Regions from separate parts of the Homo sapiens genome. Here regions 1, 2, 4, 5, 6 and 7 are each linked to region 3. The links are contacts of gene promoters, found by promoter capture Hi-C in blood cells and fetal thymus (Javierre and others, 2016). All regions are on one chromosome and are shown on one strand. The core of a region is centred on a gene start or on the middle of the fragment in contact, and the rest is flanking DNA. Distances in the headings are between cores, read along the strand shown.

Region 1 (3,324 bases), core at 47-2,546, 2.0 Mb before region 3:
TGAGATGGCGCCACTGCACTGCAGCCTGGGTGACAGAGAGAGCCTCTGTCTCAAAAAACACCAAAATAAATAAAATAAAATAAGAGGATATCTGCCTTGCACAGAATAGGGAACACAGGACAAAAGGAGAAGAATCTGAGCTCCTGTGCCGAGTGAAGCAGTGATTTACGAGGGTGCCACAAGTGTGTCCATCTCACGCTCTGCATATGATGTTAGCCATCCGGGATTCAGAGTCTAAAGGCTGTGCTGGACAGATCCATCTTTGTTCTGGAAACAATGAGATCTAGGGAGGGGACAGGAGGATTGTGCACTTATCACGTGTGAGGCTGAGAAACCTCACATCACATCACAATGAGGAAAATATTTATTTATTTATTTATTTTTGAGACGGAGTCTCGCTCTGTCGCCCAGGCTGGAGGGCAGTGGCCCAATCCCAGCTTACTGCATCCTCCACCTCACAGGTTCAAGTGATTCTCCTGCCTTAGCCTCCTGAGTAGCTGGGACTACAGGCATGCATCACCATGCCCGGCAATTTTTTTTTTTTTTTTTTTGAGACAGAGTCTCGTTCTGTCGCCCAGGCTGGAGTGCAGTGGCGTGATCTCGGCTCACTGCAAGCTCCGCCTCCCGGGTTCACACCAGTCTCCTGCCGCAGCCTCCCGAGTAGCTGGGACTACAGGCGCCCGCCACCACGCCCAGCTAATTTTTTGTATTTTTAGTAGAGACGGGGTTTCACCGTGTTAGCCAGGATGGTATCGATCTCCTGACCTCGTGATCTGCCCACCTAGGCCTCCCAAAGTGCTGGGATTACAGGCGTGAGCCACCGCGCCCGGCTCCCCCCCCCCGGCCTTCACCCCTCCCTCCCTCTCTCTCTCTTTTCTTTTTTTCCTTTTCTTTTTTTGAAAGAGTTTCACTTTTGTTGCCCAGGCTGGAGTGCAATGGTGCGATCTCGGCTAACTGCAACCTCCATCTCCCGGGTTCAAGTGATTCTCTTGCTTTAGCCTCCTGAGTAGCTGGGATTACAGGCACGCACCACCATGCCTGGCTAATTTTGTATTTTTAGTAGAGACGGGGTTTCTCTATGTTGGTCAGGCTGGTCTCAAACTCCTGACCTCAGGTGATCCATCTGCCTCGGCCTCCCAAAGTGCTGGGATTACAGGCGTGAGCTACCGTGCCCGGCCGTCCTTTGTTTTCACTTGCTATTCAATTGCTTGCTTAGGAGATGAATATTTATATATGCACGTGTGTGTATCTCAGCAAAGTCCACTGTTGTAAGCAGAATAATGGCCCCCTGAAAGATCTGCACGTCCTGTTTCCTAGAACCTCTGACTATGTTACTTCACAAGGCAAAAGAACTGAGTGTGATGAAGTTTTGGATCTTGAGATGGGGAGATTCCTGGATTATGTGTGGTTGGCCTAGTGTGATCACAAGAGGCAGAAGGGTCAGAATCCTATAAGGAGTATAAGGAGATTTGACAACAAACCCAGAAAGAGAGAGATGAACATGTCTTACTGCTGGCTTGAAGATGGAAGAAAGAAAAGTAGGTGGCACCTAGAAGCTGGAAATGGTCAGCAAACGTCCTCCCCAAGAGCTTCTGGAAGGAACCCACACTACTGAAACCTTCACTTAGGACTTACGACCTCCAGAACTCTGAGATAACAAGTTTGCACTGTCTCAAGCCACTATGGGGTGGCAGTTTGTTAAAGCAGCTTTAACAATAGATAACTAATACAGCCACAGTGTAATTTTAAAATAGTAATAGCAGGCGCCAGGCGTTGCTAATGTTCACACTTGCTTGAATGATCTGGGCTGCCTGTCTCCCTACTCAGCTGGTTATACTTACCGTTATCATACCCATTTTGTAGATGAGGCTGCCAGCCTTGAGAGCACCACCGTTACCTGGTTGAAGAGGGGAGGGGAAGTCCAGCATTGGCCTCTGCAGCGTGGATCTCCCGGCCAGGCTCTCAGCTGTCAGGTGAGTCTCACCTCACACCTCTCAGAAGACATGGACAATGGCAGTGAATGGAGCCAGGAGGACCCGGAGTGTCGGCTTGCCACTGAGAAACGGAGGGCAGGAGTAAGTGAGATTTTGGGGAGCTGGCAGCTGAGCAACGGGGGAGTCCCTGTTGCTTGGGGAAGGGGGACCAGGGAGGGCCTTAGCCAGGGGCACAGTGTTTTAGGAGCTAGTGTTGGGGAGGAACGGTGATGGCGGGCAGGCAGAGCCTGGGAAGCTGTTCTCTGGGGTCTGGGTGGTGACAATTTGAAGAGGGGCAGGACGGGCTGCCTATGTCACTCCATTTACCCTTTCGCATCTGCAGAGAGCTGGGGGCCGCCCAGTAGGTGCCAGCTGTGGGGTGGTCGCTCGTTGGCCCAGTTCTCCACTTCTCTCCTCCTGGGAACCGCCAACCTCCATTTCTTCTCTGCTCTTCCAGATCCTACAACCAGAACTCTGCGCCCCAGGATGGAGGCTCCAGCCCAGAAGGCTGGGCAGGGAGGACTCCCCAAGGCCGATGCCCAGGGTGCCTCCGGGGCCCGGGAGAAGAGGCCCGAGGAGCCGAGGCCCCTCGAAGAGGACCGAGCTGGGAGCCGCCCCACTCAAAAGGGGGACCTGCGTGGAGCGGCGGGCGGTAGGACGACTCCCCCAGGCGGGGGCTCCCGGGGCTGCAGCCTCGGGGTGAGCCCCGGCCCGGGGACCCGGCACAGCGCCGGGACCAGACCCCTCGTGCGGGAGCCGTGCGGCCCCACCTCTTCTCAGAACCCTGAGCTGGTTATCCCCGAGGGGCTGCAAGCCCGGGAGGGCCCCTGTAGGAGCCCAGCGCGTGGCGGGGACTGCAGCAGGAACTCCTGCCTGGCGTGGCATCGCGGGGCGCCCGCTGGGGAGACGCCACCCGTGTGTGACCCCTGTCCGGAGCGGATCCAGAACCACCCCCGGACTCAACTGTGTGAGGTCCACACGGACTGTTGGCCGTGCCAACCAGGGACTGGCGCTCCGACCTGCCCGAGGACCCCAAAGCCGACCTCCCGCGGGAGGAACCCCTTGGTGGAGCAGCCCCGGGCTTGCGCGTGCGGCGAGGCCTTTGCGTGGAGGGCCCTGCGGATCCCCCAGGAGAGGCTGCAGGCGACGGAGGAGCCCCGTCCGTGTGCCCGGTGCGGGAAGCGCTTCCGCCCCAACCAGCAGCAGCAGGCGGGCAAGAGTCCCCCAGTGTGTCCTGAGTGCGGCCAAACCTCGCGACCTCGCCCTATTGTCCCCGACCCCCCGGCCCAGCGACTGTACGCTTGCGACGAGTGCGGCAAGGCCTTCACGCGCACCTCCAGCCTGCTGCAGC
Region 2 (3,550 bases), core at 709-3,208, 1.8 Mb before region 3:
TAATTCCCTTTCTGTTTCTTAGGACTTCTGGGGACTTACTTCGCCCCAAGTAACTTTTCTTAATTTGAAAGCATACTTCATTTATTTTCTTTCAATTACAGCGTTTTTTTCTTTTTTTTTTTTTTTTTGAGACGGAGTTTCGCTCTTAGTCGCCCACGCTAGAGTGCAGTGGAGGGATCTCGGCTCACTGCAACCTCCGCCTCCCGGGTTCAAGCAATTCTCCTGCCTCAGCCGCAGCTGGGATTACAGGCGCCCACCGCCAGGCCCAGCTAATTTTTGTATTTTTAGTAGAGACAGGGTTTCGCCATCTTGGCCAGGCTGGTCTCGAACTCCTCACCTCAGGTGATCCGTCCATCTCGGCCTCCCAAAGTGCTGGGATTACAGGTGTGAGCCACCGTGCCCAGCCCAATTACAGCTCTTAAGGCTTGAATTTTTCCTGAGAAGCAGCTGGGGATAAGATTTACTGGAGGCCCAGCAGCACCGGACTAAGTGCCTAGGACATGGGACATGCACCAACTGAATCTGTACTTCCTGGGGGGGGGCTAAGTGGCAGACCAGCACTGGGCCACCAGTACTATTTTAGGTAACCATGCATGACACTTAAACATCTTAAACGTTACTTCATAAATTTCTAAAATTTCATTTTTGTATTCCTTAATCGAGGGATTTTCATGCCTTGGCCCCTAGGAAAACAACTGTTGGATTCTTCTACTCCACCCCACCCCTTTCTAATGTACTTACTTCTGCTTTAATCTTTATTATTAACCCATGAGGCCCCACACTCTGTTCTGTACACAGTTATCATAAAGCACCTTTTGCATGCTGTGGAACCAAGGACACCACAGTGAACAGAGAGACCACAAACCCAGAAACTGGTGAGGAAGTGATGGACTCATTCTGTGCACCTCAGTCCTCCAAATGTCAACCCATAGACTATCCCAAGACCTTTAGGGCAATCCTTACCACTGTCTATTGCAGGAAATTAGCTGCTCCACTTCATGGAGGAGAAAATGGAAGCTCTTAAGTTCACCACCAGGCAGAGGTGGAACTGGATTCTCATTCCACCCATCTCATTCCACAGACATGACTGACCCAACCCACTCATGTGGAGCTGCATAATCCCTATCAGCTGGAGCTCCAAATGGCTTTCAGTCCAGCAACTGAATGAGCCCGTAGCAATGTAGTCACCTCACCTACAACTGTCTGTCTAATGGGTTGTGAAACAAATTCACTGAGGCTCAAAGCAAGGGGTTTAATCAAGAGAGATTAACTTCTTGAGCCTGAGTTTCTTCACCCAAAGTGATGAGATACCAAAGTCCAGGCACAGCATGTGGTAAGGGCTTGATGGGAGCTGCTGCTTTCTCCCTCTTGACACTATTTTCTTCTCTCAGGATACTTCTACCTCTCTGCTGCTTCCCTTCCAGGGTGACAAACAGGCCTTAGGCAGCTGTCTTCCTCACAGTGCTGTTTGCCAGTGAATGCTGATTAGCCAGGTATACCAGTCCAAAATATAACGAAAAGCAATGATCTTTTTAGCAGCTTGTGGGGGAAAAGTCAGAAGAGTACTTACCCTCAGCTCCCCTAATCCCTGGGCACAGTACCCCATCACTTTTCCTCCTTGTCTGGAAAGCTCTCAGCTCTCCTGTTCTCTCTCATCATTCCCTCAGTGCCCCTAAGCTCCCTGTTGGATTACCTTCTGCATCTGTCTCCTCCAGTGTACCACTGAGGCTGCCAACTGGGACTTGTGGATCTCACACCCCTAAGTAGAGGATCTGCCAAAGGCTGCTGATCATCTTTACGTTACTCAGTTTTTGAATCAATGACAGTACCATCATTTCACGAAGGCTGCCCACAGTCCCAGGAAGCAAATGTACACCATACACAAAAGAAATATGCCTGGTGCGGTGACTCATGCCTGTAATCCCAGCACTTTGGGAGGCCGAGGTGGGCAGATCACAAGGTCAGGAGTTTGAGACCAGCCTGGCCAATATGGTGAAACCCCGTCTCTACTAAAAACACAAAAGTTAGCTAGGCGAGGTGGCGGGCACCTGTAGTCCCAGCTACCTGGGAGGCTGAGGCAGGAGAATCACTTGAACCCAGGAGGTGGAGGTTACAGTGAGCTAAGATCACACCACTGCACTCCAGCCTGGGCGACAGTGCAAGACTCCATCTCAGAAAGAAAAAAAAAAAAAAGAAATTCATGCTGGGATAGGCTAGGAACCCTGCCCAGGGTTGCAGAGTGGATGATCCGGTTTGGTTCTGTGTCCCTACCAAATCTCAGGTTGAAAAGTGATGCTGTGTTGGAGGTGGGGCCTGGTGAACCTTCAAGAATGGCTTAGCACCATCCTCCTGGTGGTTAAGTTAATCACACGAGATCTGGTTGTTTAAAAAAGTGTGGCCGGGCAGAATGGCTCACGCCTGTAATCCCAGCACCTTGGGAGGCTGAGGTAGGTGGTTCGCTTGAGCCCAGGAGTTCTAGACCGGCCTGGGCAACATGGCAAAACCCCATCTCCACAAAAAAAAAAAAAAAAAAAAATTAGCCAGGCGTAGCGGCATGTGCCTGTAGTCCTGGCTACTCAGGAAGCTGAGGTGGGAGAATCGCTTGAACTCAGGAAGTCGAGGCTGCAGTGGGTCATGATCGCACCACTGTACTACCGCCTAGGTGAGAGTGAGACCGTGTCTCCAAAAAAAAAAACAAAACAAACAAACAACAGTATGCGGCACCTTCTTCCTCTCTCTGGCTGCTGCTTTTCCCATGATGTGCCTGCTCCCTGCCTTCCACCATGAGTAAAAAGCTCCCTGAGGCCTCCCCAGAAGCCAACCAGATGCCAGTGCCACCCTTGTACAGCCTGCAGAACTGTGAGCCAATTAAATCTCTTATCTTCATAAATAACCCAGTCTCAGGTATTTACAGCAATTTAAGAACGGCCTAACATAGTGGGCAACAAAGGAGCCGGGTTCCAAACCCTGTTATTTCATGTCCTTGACGCTAAAGGGGTCTCCCACAGCCACCATCTTAGTTTTCCTAGAATATGGCCTTTCATCCAGAGATCCACATGTGCACCACCCTCCTGCCTGGTATAGTCTTCCCCAACATCTTCGCCTGGTTCACCTTCCCCAACATCTTCACCTGGTTCGCCTTTCCCATTCAGGTCTGAGCTCAAACGTCACCTCCTCAGAACCATCTTCCTACTTAGTTCTGAACTACTGCTGCCCACCCGTACCTCGCTTGTCCCCCACCAATGTATCCCATTGTTTCCTTCTCTTTCCAACACTCATTACCATCCCAAATATCTGATTCATTAATTTATCATGTCTATCACCCTATCTAGAGCAGTGCTGTCCAATGGAACTTTCTATAAATGAGATGTTCTAGATCTGTACTGTCCAACATAGTAGCATTAGCTGCAGGGCCAATGAGCAGTTGAAAGGTGCCCAGTGCAATTGAGGTACTGAATGGGCAACTTCATTTTTGTTGATCCAATCAGCCATGGAATGGATGTAGGCCCAATGAAAGCAGGTGTAAGACCTGCCCCACTCATCACTGTGA
Region 3 (3,492 bases), core at 322-2,821:
ACCACATGCTACCTATACAACCTCTGGCAAGTTAGGTAACCACTGCAAACCTGTTTCTCTATCAGTGAAATGGTAACTATTCCCTATCAATTGTTGGGAGGATTCTGAAATGATCTACATAAAGCATTGAGCACAGTGCTTAATTTTCATCTTTCTGTCATTTATTTTCATAACCAGCACATGGTAGGTCTCCCATTCCTTTTTCCTTTTAAATTCCTCACGTGCCCCCAGAGACTGAGAGGGATGGAAAAACTACTGTGCCAGAGGACAAGCAGCCAGCGTGGTCAGCTTTTCAGGCTTAAGGCTGAGGCTCCTGTCTGTCTCTCCCTTTTCAGCTCTCGTCCCTCCCTTTCTCCATCTTTTCCCCTTTATCTCAATCTTTCTGTCTCTCCACCACAACAGCAGTCTCCCAAACCCCAGAGCACACCAGCATCTCCAAGCACCCACACAGCTTCCTGCCCACACAAATCACAGACAACAAACCACATAGTTTCTCATTCTGGCACCTCCCCTGGCAACCTATGGACATGCCCCCACATTGTAGCCCGCCCTGCTCTCACAATGGGTCATATAAGGCCATTCTCAGTCACACTGTCACACTCACTGTCGGGATGACATACAGTGCTAAGTCACACCATCTCCCTCAGTCTCACATAATCACACACACTGTCATGCACAATCTCAAACACTGTCACATACAATCTTAGTCCAACAACAAAAACTCTGTTCACATACAGTTTCACATACAGTGACACAGTCTCACACACTGTCACACAAATTCTGTCGCAGTTTCATGTGGTCCCATATCAACAGCCACACACCGTACACAACCACACATAGCCTCACACACGGTGACATGGTCTCACATACTGTCACAGTCTCATCTAATCCTACACACACGGTCAAGCTCTGTTCACAAAGTCACACACACTGTCACACAGTCTTACATTATCCCACACACACAGGTCACACACACAGTGACATGGTCTTACACACTGTTCACACGTGGTCTACACATAATGACAGTTTAACACTGTCACACATTCCCAGTCTCACACATGGTGACGTGGTCTTAAGCACATACAGTGTCACACAGTCCCACACGGTCCCATATACTGTCAAAGGCTCCCGCATACACCGGGGCAACGGTCTCATACTGTCGCACACATTCTCACACCCAGTCTCATACTGTCACACATAGTCCCACATTTGTCCCACATGGTCTCACACTGACACACATATTCACACACGGCCTCACATTCTCACACTGTCACACACGGTCTCAAATTCTCACACAGTCACACATGGTCTCACACACGATTCCACACTGTCAAACACATTGTCACACACGGTTCCTTAATGTCTCACACATTCTCACACACTGTCACACACGGTCCCACACATGGTGGCATGGCCGCTCCCGGCGTCAGCTCCATCCCGCGCTCCTCACCGCCTCCTCCCTCCAGTGGGCACCTCCTTCGGCGCGGTCCTTGGAGGCCGGGGCTGGGCCAGGGCCCGGGCCAGGGCTCGATCCTGGCCGGCGGCCGCGCTCACAAAGGCGCCGCAGCCCTAGGGCAGGCCGCAGGGGCCGCTGGGAAATGGAGTCCGGGGCCGGCGCGGCGCAGAGGATGCTGGGATGTTGGCCGAGGGCCCCGGGCGGCCGCAGATCCCGCCGCTCAGTTGCGGGTAGTTACTGCTGCGCCCCTTTCCCTAGTAAGCCCACCTCCGCTGGCCTTCAGAATCCCACCCGGACCAGCTGAGCCCTCTCAGGCCGTTCGACTGTCCGCTCCCCCACCCGTTCCACCCGTTCCACCTGCGCAGGCGCAGCTGGTTCAGGTCCCCAAAGGCTGCCAGGCCGGGGTGCCAGCGCGGTGAGGCGCACGCGCAGTGACCGCGTCCGCGCTCCAGCGCTCCGGGTGGGGCTGTGAGTCCATCGCTGAGAAAAGGGAGCTGGAGGACCAGTGTGGAGCCTGAGCCAGCTGGAGAGGGGCCCGGTAGGATGTACGTGTGATTAAGCGCTCTGGCGGCCCGGGCTTTCTCTTTCCCTTTCTGTTTCTTCTCTCTCCGCCTTGCCCTGTCTTTCATTCGCCACTTATTGAGCGCCTGCTGTATCGGGCACTGTCGTGGGCCCTGGGCACACAGCAGTGAACAAGCAGACAAAATCCCCACCTCATGGAGCAGCATTCTAATGCGGGAGGAATTCAATAGGAAAAAATTAATAATAAAGGACACTGATGCATATTGGGAAGTAATGCGTATTATCAAGAAAAGCGAAGCAGAGTATTAAGATCATTCTTTCAGTTCTTCATTCTTTCAGTTATGCCCTCTGAATCAGTGGAAAAAACGCAAGGTGCATTTTTTTCTATTATCTCAACGACAACTAATCATAACAGAAGACTTTTCTGACCAAATATAGGGGAGTTTCCCACACATCTCAAGCAAGCAATGAGTTCAGTGAGTTCTGCAGCGGGCACCAGCTGGGTGTCCTCCAGTTTAATTCCGACGCCGTCTACTTGGAGATGGGTCAGACACCATTCGCTGAGGGCTCAGTCCCCAAGCCTGCCTCCCCCTTCCCACTTCCCACTAAAGTCTAGCCTCTGGAACATCTGACTCCACCACCTTCAAATTGGGATTTTCACCACCCCCTCTTTGCGGTTCGATATTTTGCTAGAGTGGCTCACGGAACTCAGGAAACACTTATGTTTACTAGTTTATTATAAAGGATATTACAAATGATATAGATGAAGAGATGCGTAGGGCAAAGTACAGAAAAAAGGGTGTTGCACCTTCCAGTAACCTCCACATGTTCAGCTGGGTGGAAGCTCTCTAAACCCTGTCTTTTGGGAGTTTTACAGAGGCTTCATTACATAGGCATGGTTGATTAAAATCCCGTCCCCTCCTTAGGGTTGGGGGTGGGGTTGAATGTCCCAACCTTCTAGTCATGTCTTGGTCTTTCCATAACCAGTCCCCATCCTGAAACTCTATAGGGGTTGCCAGCTGTCAACTCATTAGCATACAAAATGAGTTTTTACTGTTACTTTGTAGTTTCTAAGGATTTTAGAAGTTCTATGCTAGGAAGATCAAATATATATTTCACAATATCATACTCTTATTCCTATTCTTCAATCTGTCTTTGAAAATATTTTATAAACTCCTATCTCTAGTTTATCTCCCAATCCTGTACCATCCCTTCCAAAATCCTGTTGTGCCCTTCAATTGCTTCATTTAATTGTCTGACCAAAGTTGCCAGTGACAAAGAGCATCATATAAGCTGGGAATTTTATTTGAGGAAATTAAACAAACGCAACTATGATATCAGCAAAAAATACTAACTGAAACTTTTTTTTGAGACGGAGTCTTGCTCTGTCACCCAGGCTGGAGTGCAGTGGCGCAATCTCAGCTCACTGCAAGCTCCACCTCCCAGGTTCATGCCATTCTCCTGCCTCAGCCTCCCGAGTAGCTGGGACTACAGGCACGTGCCACCACGCCTGG
Region 4 (3,616 bases), core at 776-3,275, 1.8 Mb before region 3:
CACTTCCTGGTTAATATCTCCCAGAGTTAACCACTATCCTGATTATCATCATAAGTTTTTTTTCTGTCCTCAAACTTCATATAAATGGAATCATATAGTCTATGGTTTTCTGTGTCAACATAATGTGTTAGAGATTCATCCAAGTTGCTGCATGTATCAGTAGTTAATGTTTGGTAAATTGCTGAGTAGTATTCCACTATGGATGTACCACATTTTGTTTATACATTTTATTATTGATGGACTGCTGGGCTGTATCCAGTTTTGGCCCCTTATGACTAATGCTTCTATGAGTGTCCTTTTAGATGTCTTTTGGGGACATGGCTCATACTTCCATTGTAAGAAATTACTATTATGTTCTCTTGGGCAGTTTTTCCAGAAAGAATACAAATTTTGAATGCTAACAGGTCTGAAAATGCTTACTCTCTCCTCATATGTGTGAATGATATATTTGCTGAGCATCAAATCCTGAAATCAGAGTCTTTGTGTTTCTGGAATCTTCACTTATCTTCTAGTGTCCAGGGTTTCAGAAGAGAAACCAATGCTGCTTATACATACCCTGTGCTCTTTGTAAGGGATTTGCAATGAAACTTGTGAAGTTTGCACTAGTTTTGGAGTATGGGTACTTCACCAGACTATGATGTCTTTTTAACCCTGCCAAGACATTGGACATGCCCTTAGAAATGTGAAGATACGTACAACTCATTTTTTTTATTTTTTTGAGATGGAGTTTTGCTCTTGTCACCCAGGCTGGAGTGCAATGGCACAACCTTGGCTCACTGCAACCTCTACCTCCCGGGATCAACTGATTCTCCTGCCTTAGCCTCCCAAGTAGCTGGGATTACAGGCATGTGCCACCACACTCAGCTAATTTTTCTATTTTTACTAGAGACAGGGTTTCACCATGTTGGCCAGGCTTGTCTCAAACTCCTGACCTCAGGTGATCCTCCTGCCTCGGCCTCCCAAAATGCTGGGATTACAGGTGTGAGTCACCGTGCCTGGCCAACATACAACTCTTTATGATGCTTCTATTCAAGTAGATAGAAGAATGCTATTGGCAAAGTATTAGCAAGTTAGTATAAAGCTCTCTGATTTGTTTGGAGTGATAATATTTGGATTATGCAGAAAAAAATTGATAGCATATCCTTCAGCCCTCATCTAGGACTATCATAAAATTATACACATAAGGATCCCCATGATGCTAAAAGGTGTATGATTCCTGCACCATTCTTCAAGGTTGACGGTTCTTTTATTCATACGTGATGTAGAAAAATAGATACGCTGTTGCCATATGATTCCTGCACCATTCTTCAAGGTTGACGGTTCTTTTATTCATACGTGATGTAGAAAAACAGATACGCTGTTGCCACTGATAACATTTATGGGCAACCCGCTTGGGTCCCCTTCCACACTGTGGAAGCTTTGTTCTTTCGCTCTTTGCAATAAATCTTACTGTTGCTCACTCTTTAAAAAAAAAAAAATTTACATGTGATTACCTATGACAACCATTTCTCTTCTTTTCTTTTCTTTTAGACAGGGTCTCGTTTAGTCACCCAGGCTGGAGTGCAGTGGTACCATCTCAGCTCACTGTAGCCTTGACCCCCTCAAGCAGTCCTCACTTCCCAAGTAGCTGGGACTACAGGAATGCACCACCACGCACAGCTAATTTTTGTATTTTTATTAGAGACGGGGTTTCTCCATGTTGCACAGGCTGGTCTTGGACTCCTGAGCTCAAGTGATCCACCTGCCTTGCCCTCCAAAAGTGCTGGGATTACAGGTGTGAGCCTCTGTGCCCAGCCATGATTATCTATGGCAACCATTTTTTTTTTTTTTTTTGAGATGGAGTTTTGCTCTGTTGCCCGGGCTGGAGGGCAGTGGTGTGATCTTGGTTCACTGCAACCTCCACCTCCTGGGTTCAGCTATTCTCCTGCCTCAGCCTCCTGTGTAGCTGGGATTACAGGCATATGGGAGACATTTCTTTTTCTTTTTCTTTTTTTCTTGTTTTTTTTGAGACGGAGTCTTGCTCTGTCACCCAGGCTGGAGTGCAGTGGCACGATCTCGGCTTACAGCAAGCTCTGCCTCCTGGGTTCACACCATTCTCCTGCCTCAGCCTCCTGAGTAGCTGGGACTCCAGGCGCCCACCACCACACCCAGCTAATTTTTTTTTTTTGTATTTTTAGTAGAGACGGGGTTTCACGGTGCTAGCCAGGATGGTCTTGATCTCCTGACCTCGTGATCCACCCGCCTCGGACTCCCAAAGTGCTGGGATTACAGGCGTGAGCCACTGTGCCCAGCCGCATATGGCCAGACATTTCTATGAGACATTGTTCATCAGGCCTAGACCCTGAGTCCCCATTAAATGGTGTTTCTATGGCAAATTAGGGACATATGTAGAATAGAACTGCTTATCCCTGCTGATCTGTGGCTGCAGGGAGTCACAAGTTTGCAGTCTTGTTACATTCAGATACTTAAGAGTTAAAAAATAACTGGTGGCTTTTGCCTCCTTTATCCCTGATGTCAAATAAAATGGAATTCCAACCAATAGCTTTTCCACATTGATCTTTTTTCAATGAGTTTTTCTAATTTGTTTGAATTTCCTGGTGTCAAATAAGGTAAAAGCCATGGTTGAAAGCTTGCCAATACTGACTGCATTCATAGTGTTCTCCAGTATGAGTCCTCTTACGTTCAATAATATGAGAACAACTCCTGAATGCTCTTCCACGCAAATTACATGTATGGGGTTTTCCTCAGTATGAGTCCTCTGATGTCACATCATAAGGGCTAGGCTACGTCTGAAGCCTTTCCCACGATGACTGTATCCATCACTTTGCTCTCCAGTGTGTCTTCTGTGATTTTTGAGTAGTGGAGGAGCAAAGTGTAAAACCTTTCCCTGAATGATTCCCTTCATAAGGTGTCTCTATAGATTCTTAGCTATAGGGTAAAAGTGTTCACTTCTTTAGAAGAATTTCCTAAATTCACTGCAAATATATAATTTCCCACAAGTATAAATTGTCTCATATTGAATAAGGTATAATTTGTGTCTACAGCCTTTGCTACAGCGATTACATTTATAGTATTGTTCTCCTGTATAAGTTCTGAAACATACTGAAAGAAATATTTCTTAATAAAGACTCTCCAACACTCAACACATTTGTAAGGTCTATTTCCTGAGAGAGTTTGCTCATACATCAGTGGGGTTGAGCTCTGTTTAAAGACTTCTTTACACATACTACATTTATATGGTCTCTCTCCAGTATGACTTCTCTGATGTCAGAAAGTATTTACCATAAACAGGGATTTCTCACATTCAGAACATCTGGAGGGTTTGTCAACTGTGTGAGTGCTCTCAAAACAAAGATGAGAGGAGCTCTGAATACACTTTTCCACATTCCTTACATTCAACTCAACTCTCTCTAACATGAATTCGCTTACATTGACTGAGACTTGTGCTACACTTAAAAAATTTACTACGTATATTTCATATATAAGGCTTTTCTACACTGAACTGTTTGCAAGTCTAAGAAGTTGAGTGTTTTGACCAAAAGCATTCCCAAAATCATAATTTTCAGGGGTTTTTCCCTGTGCATTTATGGTTTATTAAATCTGAATGTTGTTTTAC
Region 5 (3,564 bases), core at 770-3,269, 1.9 Mb before region 3:
CCTGGTACTAGTCTAAGTCCTCTTCCCAGAGTGCCCTGGGTAACTCTTTGCTAGTTCTGTACTGTTTCCTCAGAGAGGCTGGGCTGTCCTGGAGCCACAGCACACAGGACTTGCCCTATAGCAGGTTCACAATAAGCAGGCATTAAGCAAATGGAATGACCAGTAAAGGCTGAGCATGGTTACCCAAGAATGTAGGGAATCATGAGGGGAAGGAGGAGCAAGGGTGGCAGGGATGACAATAGATGCTGCAACAGCTTCCAAGTTCTCTTTTGCACCCCTGGAACACCTGTTCTGGAGAAATCCCTCATGACGGTCTCTGAAATACATGTATGTGAAACTTCCTCAGCCTCCTCAGCCAACCTCAACTCCTATCAGGTTGAGGTTCCCCATCCACAGCTGCTTTACCAACCAAGGAGGGTGGTTCTTTTCATTTCTCACACATGGATTATACCAAGCCTGATAATGGTACCTACCTCAGAGGGTTGCTATGAGATTATGTGAGGTGATTTATTATAAGTGTCCAGCACAGGCCTGGTGCACAGTAAACATGCAGTAGATGTATGGATACCATAGCCCCCTGCTACACGTAAGCAAACACTGGGGGACATATCCATAAGCCCAGCTGAATGACCACTAGTCACTCAGTTTCAGCTGCAGACATGGCAAAGCACAAATCCTCTCTCATATGCTTGGTAAACTGTTTGTGGATCACCCAAGTTTTAGTCTCCCTGATAAAAATCTCAGTCAATCAGATATTAACACATATTATCTCAGGTACAGTCTGTCAGCCACAGCCTTCAAAATACCCAGACACAGGAAATATCTCAATGTCACCTATAATCAGTCAAATAAACACAGGCCTGGCCAGGCATGGTGGCTCATGCCTATAATCCCAGCACTTTGGGAGGCCTAGGCAGGTGGATCACCTGAGGTCAGGAGTTCCGGGCCAGCCTAACCAACATGGTGAAAGCCCGTCTCTACCAAAAATACAAAAATTAGCCAAGTGTGGTGGCCGGTGCCTGTAATCCCAGCTACTCGGGAGGCTGACGCAGGATAATCGCTTGAACCCGGGAGATGGAGGTTGCAGTGAGCCGAGATTGCGCCACTGCACTCCAGCCTGGGCAACAGAGCAAGACTCCGTCTCAAAAATAAACACAGGCCCTCGCAGCATTTCCATCACACAGTATTATTCTGATCACAGTCATTCATAATCTTAGTCACCATCTCAAGGACACACAAAGAAAATCAGTCACACTTGAAATCCCACCGTCACACGCTCACCCTCTCACAGTATCTCACAACCCACGTAGGAAGTCTCAAACGGCAACCATCTCTGTCAGTCACACACTCCATGGTTAGTGTTACACTCAACCTATCAGAATCACACACTCCAACCCGTCAGATACACACACCCAAGAGGTGTCAGACACAGAACCGCCTATCAGACACATAAACGGGTCCGCCCCACACCCTCCCAGGCCACTGGTCCTACATTTTATCTGTTATCTGTCCGCCCGCTCCACACTTCGTCCGCCCCACACCCGGTCAATCAGTCCATCCGACACACACTCCGTCAGTCCGACACATTCTCCGTCGGTCCGTCCGGCACTCAGTGTGTCATTCCGCACCACATTCGGTCCGTGAGTCTGTCCACACCGGGTCCGTCAGTCCGTGCACACACGGTCCGTCCACGCCTGGTCCGTCAGTCCGTCACATCCTCTGCGCGTGTGTCCGGCACTCGCAGTCCGTCTACTCACGTCCCCTAGTCAGCCTCTCACTCTCTACCCGCTGGGCGGTACCCCGCATCTCGCTCTGGCCGCCCCAGAGGTTCGCGGCTTCTGGACCTGCTGTGCCCCTCTCCAGCCTGGATCAGGACGGAGAACACCCCCGAAACCCACCTCACCAGCACAGCCGGCGGACCCTTCCGGAGGTGGCCGCAGAGACTAGCCAACTTGCGCGCCCGCCGACCCGGACCACAGCTCCCAGCACACCTCAAGGGCCCACGCCCGCCAGGACTACAATTCCCGGCGTCCTCCGGAAGCTCAAGTGTACCCAGGCGCGGTGCCTGCTGGGAATTGTAGTTGACGTTGGTCAGCACGGAGGCCACAGGATCCCAGCCCGGCCTTTGTGGGACTGAGGTGGCGCTGAGTGGGAGAGCAGCAGGCGATGCGCGAAAGGCGGGACTTGGAGGTGAGGGAAATGTGAAGGCTGAGGGTGAGAGTGCCTGTGTGAGGCTGAGGGTGCCTGTGTGAGGGTGAGGGTGAGGGCGGCTGTGTGAGGGCTGAGGGCTGAGGGTGCCTGTGTGAGAGCTGAGGGTGCCTGTGTGAGGCTGAGGGTGCCTGTGTGAGGCTGAGGGTGAGGGCGGCTGTGTGAGGGCTGAGGGTGCCTGTGTGAGAGCTGAGGGTGCCTGTGTGAGGCTGAGGGTGAGGGCGGCTGTGTGAGGCTGAGGGTGGCTTTGGGAGGGCTGAGGGTGTTTGTGTGAGGGGTGAGGGGTAAGGGTGAGGCAAGAAAATCGGGTCTGGAGGCAGGGAACCTAAGGACTTCCTAGAAGTAAATCAAATGGAAACTGCAGCTATGGTAGGAAATATCCTCTCCATTTATGCAGGGCGTACATGGAGTAAATCACTTTGTAACTTTACTTCGTCCTCTTCATTTACATAGGGCATATACCAAGTAACCAATGGAAACCTCTAGAGGGTATTTAAACCCCAGAAAATTCTGTAACCGGGCTCTTGAGCCCCTATGCTCCGGCCTGCTCCCATACAGTGGAGTGTACTTTCATTTTCAATACATCTCTGCTTTTGTTGCTTCATTCTTTTCTTTGTGCATTTTGTCCAATTATTTGTTCAAGATGCCAAGAACCTGGACACCCTCCACCAGTAACAAGGGTACCTGGGTGAGAGGTGAGGGTGCCCATGTTAGGAGTGAGGGGAGAGGGTGCCTGTCTGAGGGCTTGTGGGTGTGAGTGTCTGTGTAAGTACTGAAGGTGCCTTTGTGAGAGGTGAGCGGTGTGGTTGCCTATGTCAGGGTGTGTATTGAGTGTAGCTATGTGTGGCTCTCTGTGAACACATGTAATCATTTTTATAAATGTGTATCATTTTTTACTGAATTTGAGCTGGGCGTCTGTCTGCATGAGTCACTCTGTGACCAGGTTTGTGGGTTGTTCTGTGTGCTTACTCTGCGTGTGTGTGACCTGTGATTTAATCATCATATGTGATAATCATGCAGCTGTGTTTGCCTGCACCAGGTGTAATTGTGTCTGAGACAGATACTTAGAGGTAATGGGGTGGACCTGACACAGTATAAAGGCCCTAGACTGTGTGTGATGTTGTTACGGTGACTGTGAATGGTAGTGTGATTGTGTGATTCAGTCGATGCCTGGACTGTGTGTGAGAATGTATCTTCTCTGTGTGTGTGTGTATGTGTAAGAGACATTGAGCAGGAGACTCTGGCTTGGGGCCCGATACATAGAGGTTGGTGGCCCAGCCTATGTTCAGGTGAGGCCTTTTTGAGGCAGGGTGTGTATGATTGCTTGGTGGTGCTGGTGGTGTTTCTTGGCCCCAG
Region 6 (3,422 bases), core at 894-3,393, 1.9 Mb before region 3:
CAGGCCATACAGAGATAGGAGCTGAGGGGACATAGTGAGGTGTGACCAGAAGACAAGAGTGCGAGCCTTCTGTTATGCCCAGACAGGGCCACCAGAGGGCTCCTTGGTCTAGTGGTGACGCCAGCGTTTGGGAAGACCGTGGTCTAGCGGTAGCGAAAAGTGTCAAGGAACAACACCCGCTACTTAGCAGACCGGGAAAGGGTGGGGGGCGGTCTCCCTTTCCCTGGGGGAGGTTAGAGAAGACTCTGCTCCTCCACCTCTTGTGGAGGGCCTGACATTAGTCAGGCTCGCCCACAGTTATCCGGAGGCCTAACCGTCTCCCTGTGATTCTGTGCTTCAGTGGTCACGCTCCTAGTCCGCCTTCATGTTCCATCCTGTACACCTGGCTCTGCCTTCTAGATAGCAGTAGTAAATTAGTGAAAGTACTAATAGTCCCTGATATGCAGAAATAATGGCGTAAGCTGTCTTTCTCTCTGTCTCCTCTCCCTCTCTGCCTCGGCTGCCAGGCAGGGAAGGGCCCCCTGACCAGTGGACACATGACCCACGTGACCTTACCTATCATTGGAGATGACTCACACTCTTTACCCTGCCCCTTTTGCTTTGTATCCAATAAATAAGAGCGCAGCCAGACATTCGGGGCCACTACCGGTCTCCGCGCATTGGTGGTAGTGGTCCCCCAGGCCCAGCTGCCTTTTATCTCTTTGTCTTGTGTCTTTATTTCTACACTCTCTCGTCGCCGCACACAGGGAGAGACCCACCGACCCTGTGGGGCTGGTCCGTACACTCTTGATAGTGGCAGTTTTAATGCAACTAGCTACATTTACGACATAGGCTGAATTACAGACAATATTAATAGGAAATAAAGCTGTGAGCTTTAAAACTTGAATAACTGCCATTAATTCAGAGTGTTGAGCTGAAACTCTAGGGGTCTTTATTATTTAAGTATATTTAGGTCCATAAATGGCTGTGTGGCTTTTGGAAGAGCCATCGGTAAAATAGGTCTGTCCACCTGAAATGGGTTTGTGATGAGCAATCACAGGGGGAATAAAAGGGTGAATTTTATAAAACTGCAAAATTTTGTCTGATGGATAATGGTTATCTATTATTTCTACAAAATCTGCGAAAGTGATTTGCCATGCAGTGGACATCTCCCAGGCCGCAGCCTGTTGTTGGGAATCCAAGGTAACAATAATTTTATCAGGATCATATCCTGTAAGCATTTTTGATCTATGCCTGCCTATTGTTATAAGTTGTGTGACTAAAGCAAGATAAACTTGCAAAGATTTTACTGTTTGACTGGATAAAAAAAGCCATTCTATTACCATTATAGTTTTGTCTATGAATTGAGCTAAAAGTCCTGATGGAGAATGGGGGGTAGGAAGAATAAACAAAACCAAAGACTTTTGTGGTTGTAGCCAGGAGGCATGTCGTTGCTGAAGCATCTTTCTACAAGCTGTAATTCAGCTTCTGCCTCCTTAGTAAGTTGCCGAGGGGAATCTAATGAAGAATCTCCTTGGAGGGTTTGATAAACATGAGTGAGTTGATAAGAAGCAATACCTAGCATTGGGCGCAGCCAATTAATATCCCCTAAGTTATTCAGAGTTTGTAATTTGTTCTTACGAAGAGCTACTTTCTGAGGCTGAATACTTTTTTCAGTAACAGTAGTATCTAAGTATTGGTATGAGGAGGTTGTTTGTACCTTTTCAGGAGCTATTTTGAGATTCCATTTAGTTAAAGCCCATTTTATTTCTCTGAATAACTGGTATAATACTTGATCTGTAGGAGTGGCCAAAACAATATTATCCATATAATGAATGATGTAGGTGGTGGAAAACATATTCCGAGGCTCCTTCAATGCTTTTCCTACAAAATGCTGACATAACGTAGGACTGTTGAGCATGCCTGGGGTAATAAAACTTTTCATTGATCACAAGAGACAGGCTCTCTCTGATTAATAGAAGGCACAGAGAAGGCGAATTGAGGCTTGTCCTTCTTGTGTAATGGTATAGTGAAAAAACAGTCTTTAAGATCTATTACTACAAGAGGCTAATCTCTTGGAATGGTTGCCGGGGATGGCAGACCTTGCTGTAATGCACCCACTGGTTTAATTTGTGCATTAACAGCTCTCAAATTATGCAGCAGTTGCCATTTTCCTGACGTTTTGGGGGTCACAAATACTGGTGAATTCCAAGCACTAACTGATACTTTTATATGTCCTGCATCCAATTGCTTTCTTACCAGCTGATGGAGTTGAGTCAGTTTTCTCCTGTGATAGGGGCCATTGATCCACCCACACAGGTTTATCAGTCAGCCACTCTAGCAGCAAGGCAGTGGGTGGAGAAGAAGTATCAATGACCCCTATCAGAAATCCTGATGACCTAGCCCTTTCCTATCTGTTTGCCCAGTTACCGATACCGGACCGGGGTTTCCCTGTAGGAACTTTCCCAAGCCTTTCCCACTCTGATATCCCATTTCCTTCAATATTTTAAATCCTGGATTATCAACCTTTTCATTTGTAAGTCTCACATCCCATGCTGTAAGTAAATCTCAGCCCCAGAGATTAACACGTATATTTGCAACATAAGGTTGAAAAGTACATGGCTGTCCATCTGGACTGACACAAAGTAAAATTTCAGCACTCTGTTAAACACTTTGAGCTGTTCCTACTCCCACTAAGGATGCAGAGGTTAGTAGCAGGGGCCAATTGTTTTTGGATATTACTGAAACATCTGCTCCTGTGTCCATACACCCACAACACTTCTTTCCTTTAATTTGCACTGCACAGGTGGGTCAATTAGAAGCTATGGGTTGGGATAGGTAAATTTCCTGTGTAGTTGTACTCCCAAATTCTTGATTTCCTCTTTTCTCCTTTCGTGAAGAAGGGTGTAATTTGCAGAGAATAATAATAAGCAATAGCTGAGCAATATATTTCCCAGGTTTAAAAACCCAAAGATCTTGTGACATTACAATTACTTGAATTTCTCCTTCATAATCAGAGTCAACAATCCAGGGATCACAGTAATGCCCTGTAAGTTCAGATGGCTTTGGCCTAAAATTAATCCTGTATATCCTGTTGGCAAAGGTTCCCAAATGCCTGTGGGAATTCTGGTGGGTTTGTCTCCTCCAACTAACGTGACCCATTCTCTGACTGAGCGATCTAATCCTGCACTCCCCGGTGTTCCAGAGGAGAGGGAGTCAATGTTCCTCCAGGAACCCACCCCTGTAGCAGGGTTGTGGCCTGGATGGGGAATGCCCTCATTGTTTGAGGGGCCCAGGCCCCATTCTCATTTCCTGAGAGCGGGGTGCCATTCTGATGAAATTTTGAGCAACACTGATTAGCCCAATGATTTCCTTTATTACGGCGAGGGCAAAGTCCTGGTGTTTTTTTTTCTGTGTGTGTGTGTTGGGGGGAGCGGGGCGGG
Region 7 (3,247 bases), core at 68-2,567, 1.9 Mb before region 3:
GGCGTGAGCCATCGTTCCCGGCCTAGGCTTTAGGCAAGCTTTGGTATTTTGTATTCATGTTGATCATTTGATACAGAGTACTTATTTTTACTTAAACAGATGTAGTATTTTTATTTCCTCTTTGACCAAATAGCTGTTTCATATATATTCTAAAATACCCACAATTATTAATTTGTAATTTTGTTGTGCTATTAAAGTATATGATAATATGATTTTCTACTTTTTTGGTTTCTTTCTTCTTTTTTTTTTTGAGACAGAGTTTCGCTCTTGTTGCCCAGGCTGGAGTACAATGGTGCGATCTTGGCTTACTGCAACCTCCGCCTCCTGGGTTCAAGCGATTCTCCTGCCTCAGCCTCCCAAGTAGCTGGGATTACAGGCATGCGCCACCACACCCGGCTAATTTTTGTAATTTTAGTAGAGATGGGTTTCACCATGTTAGCCAGGATGGTCTCGATTTCCTGAACTTGCAATCTGCCCAACTCGGCCTCCCAAAGTGCTGGGATTACAGGCATGAGCCACCGCGCCCGGCCTTTTTTTCTTTTCTTTTCTTTTTTTTTTTGAGAAGGAGACTCGCTCTGTAGCCCAGGCTGGAGTGCAGTGGCACGATCTCAGCTCACTGCAACCTCCGCCTCCCAGGTCCCGGTTCAAGCAATTCTCCTGCCTCAGCCTCCTGAGTAGCTGGATTTACAGGCACGCACCACCACGTCTTTTAGTAGAGACGGGGTTTCACCATGTTGGCCAGGCTGGTCTTGAACTCCTGACCTCATGATTCTCCCGCCTCAACTTCTTCTTGATAAGAATTCTGGAAAATCAAATCTTCAAGGACTAACCCACTCCCTTTAAATCCAAGGGATTATTTTTATTTTTATTTTTAAAGAAACAGGGTCTCACTCTGTTGCCCAGGCTGGAATGCAGTGGTGCAATCTCAGCTCACTGCAGCCTCAACTTCTCAGGCTCAAGTGATCTCACACCTCAGCCTCCTGAGTAGCTGGAACAACAGGCGCGTGCCACCACACCTGGTTTTTTATTTCTTGCAGAGACAGAGTCCTGCCATGTTGCCCAGTCTAATCTCAAACTCACGGCCTCAGTTGATCCTTCCACCTGGGCCTTGGTCTGTTAGGATTACAGGTGTAAGCCACCACACCCATCCAACTCCAGGGGATTCTAGGAAGCCAAGGAACCTTCCTGCCCTGCCTGCTGAAATAAACTCAAACTGGCCAAACAGACAAGTCTGACATCTTTTCTTTATGCTTTTTTTTTTTTTTTTTCCTGTCAAGGAGTCTCACTCTGTTGCCCAGGCTAGAGTGTAGTGGGGCAATCTCGGCTCATTGCAATCTCCAACTCCCGGGTTCCAGCGATTCTCCTGCTCAGCCTCCCAAGTAGCTGGCATTACAGGCACCCACCACCACGCCCAGATAATTTTTGCATTTTTAGTGGGGACAGGGTTTCACCATGTCGGCCAGGCTGGTCTTCAACTCCTGACCTCAAGTGATCCGCCCGCCTCGGCCTCCCAAAGTGCTGGGATTACAGGCATGAGCCACTGCGCCCAGCCTGCTCTTGCTTGATTTTTTAAATTGTCAGATCACTAATACAGAGACACCGAATCAAAAGGAGAGTAGGACAGTTGTTCATAATCCCACAAATCAAATGCTTACCTCCTCATGTACCATTGCTTCTCTCACCTATAGGCACACATTTGAAATAATTTGTTAGTTATCCAAATAAGAAGTGAACCACCAGGGAATTAAATGCTATGGGCTTAAAAGGGAAAGTACTCATCTCCTGCCCCAGTCACTCATCCTCTCAGCCTCCCGACATCACTTTTTTTTTGAGATAGGGTCTCACACTGTCACATAGGCTGGAGTGCAGTGATATAATAACAGCTAACTGCAGCCTCAACCTCCTGGGGTCAAAGAATCCTCCCAACTCAGCTTCCTGAGTAGCTGGGACTTCAGGTATGTGCTACTATGCCCGGCTAATTTTTGTATTTTTTGTAGAGACCAGGTCTCGCCATGTTGCCCAGGCTGGTCTCCAACTCTTAGGCTCAAGTGATCCACCTGCCTCAGCCTCCCAAAGCACTGGGATTACAGGTGTGCACCACCATATCCACTGCACCCACCTCCAGCCACTTTTAACCATATCTGTTCCAATTCTTCTTGAGGACACCTCCGTAATTCTAATCTTTGATCATCTTTAGTCTTTTTTTTTTTTTTTTTCCTGGAGACGGAGTCTGACTCTGTTGCCCAGGCTGGAGCACAGTGATGCAATCTCAGCTCACTGCAACCTCCACTTCCTGGGTTCAAACGATTCTCCTGCCTCAGCCTCCTGAGTAGCTGGGATTACAGGTGCCCACCACCACGCTGGGCTAATCTTTGTATTTTTAGTAGAGACAGAGTTTCACCATGTTGGCCAGGCTGGTCTCAAACTCCTGACCTCAGGTGATCCACCCACCTCAGCCTCCCAAAGTGCTGGGATTACAGGCATAAGCCACCGCATCCAGCCAATCATCTTTAGTTTTCACTAACTTCCTGCTCTGACAGGTGAGGATCTGACTCACATCCGCTGCCAATTCCTCTCATATTACATTTCAAGCTTTAATTTTCATCTTCTAAATAAACTTACATATCATGTTTAAAAGCCTACTTCCTAAAAGGATGGTAAGGGAAACCTCTACTCTCCACTACTACTTTCCCCATCTACTCTCCCACATCTGCAGGTGGGGCTGACATTGTCAGTGACAGGAATAATGACAACAGTGCCCTACCCTACGGCCACTATGAAGTTGTCAGGTCACAGCCATGTGTTACTTCCTAAAAATTAAAAGCCAATACAGGCCGGGTGCAATGGCTCATCCCTGTAATCCCAGCACTTTGGGATGCCAAGGTGGGCGGATCACAAGGTGAGGAGTTGGAGACCATCCTGACCAACATGGTGAAACCCTGTGTCTACTAAAAATACAAAAATTAGCTGGGCGTGGTGGCACGTGCCTGTAATCCCAGCTACTCAGGAGGCTGAGGCAGGAGAATTGCTTGAACCCGGGAGGCGGAGGTTACAGTGAGCCAAGATCGCGCCACTGCACTCCAGACTGGGCAACAGAGACTCCTTCTCAAAAAAAAAGAAAAAAAAAGCCAATACCTAGGGTTCACGTCACAGCTATGCAAATGCCATTCCCTGAAGGGTCAATCAACAATCTGACTGCATCTCCTCCTCCTTTATTCAAATTTCATGAGCTTTTTGCCCCCTCCAG

Evidence for each region. Contacts are between HindIII fragments. The CHiCAGO score rates a contact against its expected background, and 5 or more counts as called.
Region 1: a contact is called between a fragment that was not itself captured here and the fragment with the promoter of ZNF583 in region 3, in 1 of 17 cell types (neutrophils). The highest score is 5.9, in neutrophils.
Region 2: a contact is called between a fragment that was not itself captured here and the fragment with the promoter of ZNF583 in region 3, in 2 of 17 cell types (non-activated CD4 T cells and neutrophils). The highest score is 7.2, in non-activated CD4 T cells.
Region 4: a fragment that was not itself captured here is called in contact with the fragment with the promoter of ZNF583 in region 3 in 2 of 17 cell types (total CD4 T cells and total CD8 T cells); the score reaches 5.4 in total CD4 T cells.
Region 5: a contact is called between the fragment with the promoter of ZSCAN22 here and the fragment with the promoter of ZNF583 in region 3, in 1 of 17 cell types (neutrophils). The highest score is 7.2, in neutrophils.
Region 6: a fragment that was not itself captured here is called in contact with the fragment with the promoter of ZNF583 in region 3 in 1 of 17 cell types (neutrophils); the score reaches 5.3 in neutrophils.
Region 7: a fragment that was not itself captured here is called in contact with the fragment with the promoter of ZNF583 in region 3 in 1 of 17 cell types (neutrophils); the score reaches 6.4 in neutrophils.

Annotation. Positions count from the first base shown.
Region 1 is chr19:58,368,468-58,371,791 of GRCh38, reverse strand. ZNF837 (zinc finger protein 837) reads left to right here. Exons shown (of 3, transcript NM_138466.2): 2 at 1,864-1,973; 3 at 2,431-3,324. The coding sequence starts at 2,460. It overlaps LOC124904788 (a long non-coding RNA gene), which reads right to left and starts at 1,985. Exons shown (of 2, transcript XR_007067364.1): 1 at 1,898-1,985. The HindIII fragment of the contact is 6,674 bases long and covers 1-3,324 here.
Region 2 is chr19:58,200,158-58,203,707 of GRCh38, reverse strand. The region is part of intron 4 of ZNF274 (zinc finger protein 274); the gene reads right to left. Among named protein-coding and RNA genes, the nearest start is that of ZNF274, 19 kb to the right of the region's middle. The HindIII fragment of the contact is 4,047 bases long and covers 1-3,550 here.
Region 3 is chr19:56,402,411-56,405,902 of GRCh38, reverse strand. ZNF583 (zinc finger protein 583) reads right to left here and starts at 1,571. Exons shown (of 5, transcript NM_152478.3): 1 at 1,451-1,571. RefSeq lists a silencer at 1,338-1,547 and an enhancer at 2,008-2,147. The HindIII fragment of the contact is 8,045 bases long and covers 1-3,492 here.
Region 4 is chr19:58,166,043-58,169,658 of GRCh38, reverse strand. All of the region lies in intron 1 of LOC124904784 (a long non-coding RNA gene), which reads right to left. Among named protein-coding and RNA genes, the nearest start is that of ZNF274, 15 kb to the left of the region's middle. The HindIII fragment of the contact is 1,212 bases long and covers 1,420-2,631 here.
Region 5 is chr19:58,325,449-58,329,012 of GRCh38, reverse strand. It overlaps ZSCAN22 (zinc finger and SCAN domain containing 22), which reads right to left and starts at 2,019. Exons shown (of 3, transcript NM_181846.3): 1 at 1,899-2,019. LOC105372480 (a long non-coding RNA gene) reads left to right here and starts at 1,765. Exons shown (of 3, transcript NR_144444.1): 1 at 1,765-2,190. RefSeq lists enhancers at 1,719-2,048, 1,392-2,134. The HindIII fragment of the contact is 13,061 bases long and covers 1-3,564 here.
Region 6 is chr19:58,307,618-58,311,039 of GRCh38, reverse strand. The region is part of intron 2 of ERVK3-1 (endogenous retrovirus group K3 member 1); the gene reads right to left. The region is part of intron 5 of ZNF8-ERVK3-1 (ZNF8-ERVK3-1 readthrough (NMD candidate)); the gene reads right to left. Among named protein-coding and RNA genes, the nearest start is that of ERVK3-1, 4.0 kb to the right of the region's middle. RefSeq lists a silencer at 43-337. The HindIII fragment of the contact is 5,065 bases long and covers 1-3,422 here.
Region 7 is chr19:58,270,185-58,273,431 of GRCh38, reverse strand. The region is part of intron 1 of ZNF8-DT (ZNF8 divergent transcript); the gene reads left to right. It also overlaps a transcript of ZNF544 not described here. Among named protein-coding and RNA genes, the nearest start is that of ZNF8-DT, 6.9 kb to the left of the region's middle. The HindIII fragment of the contact is 2,554 bases long and covers 41-2,594 here.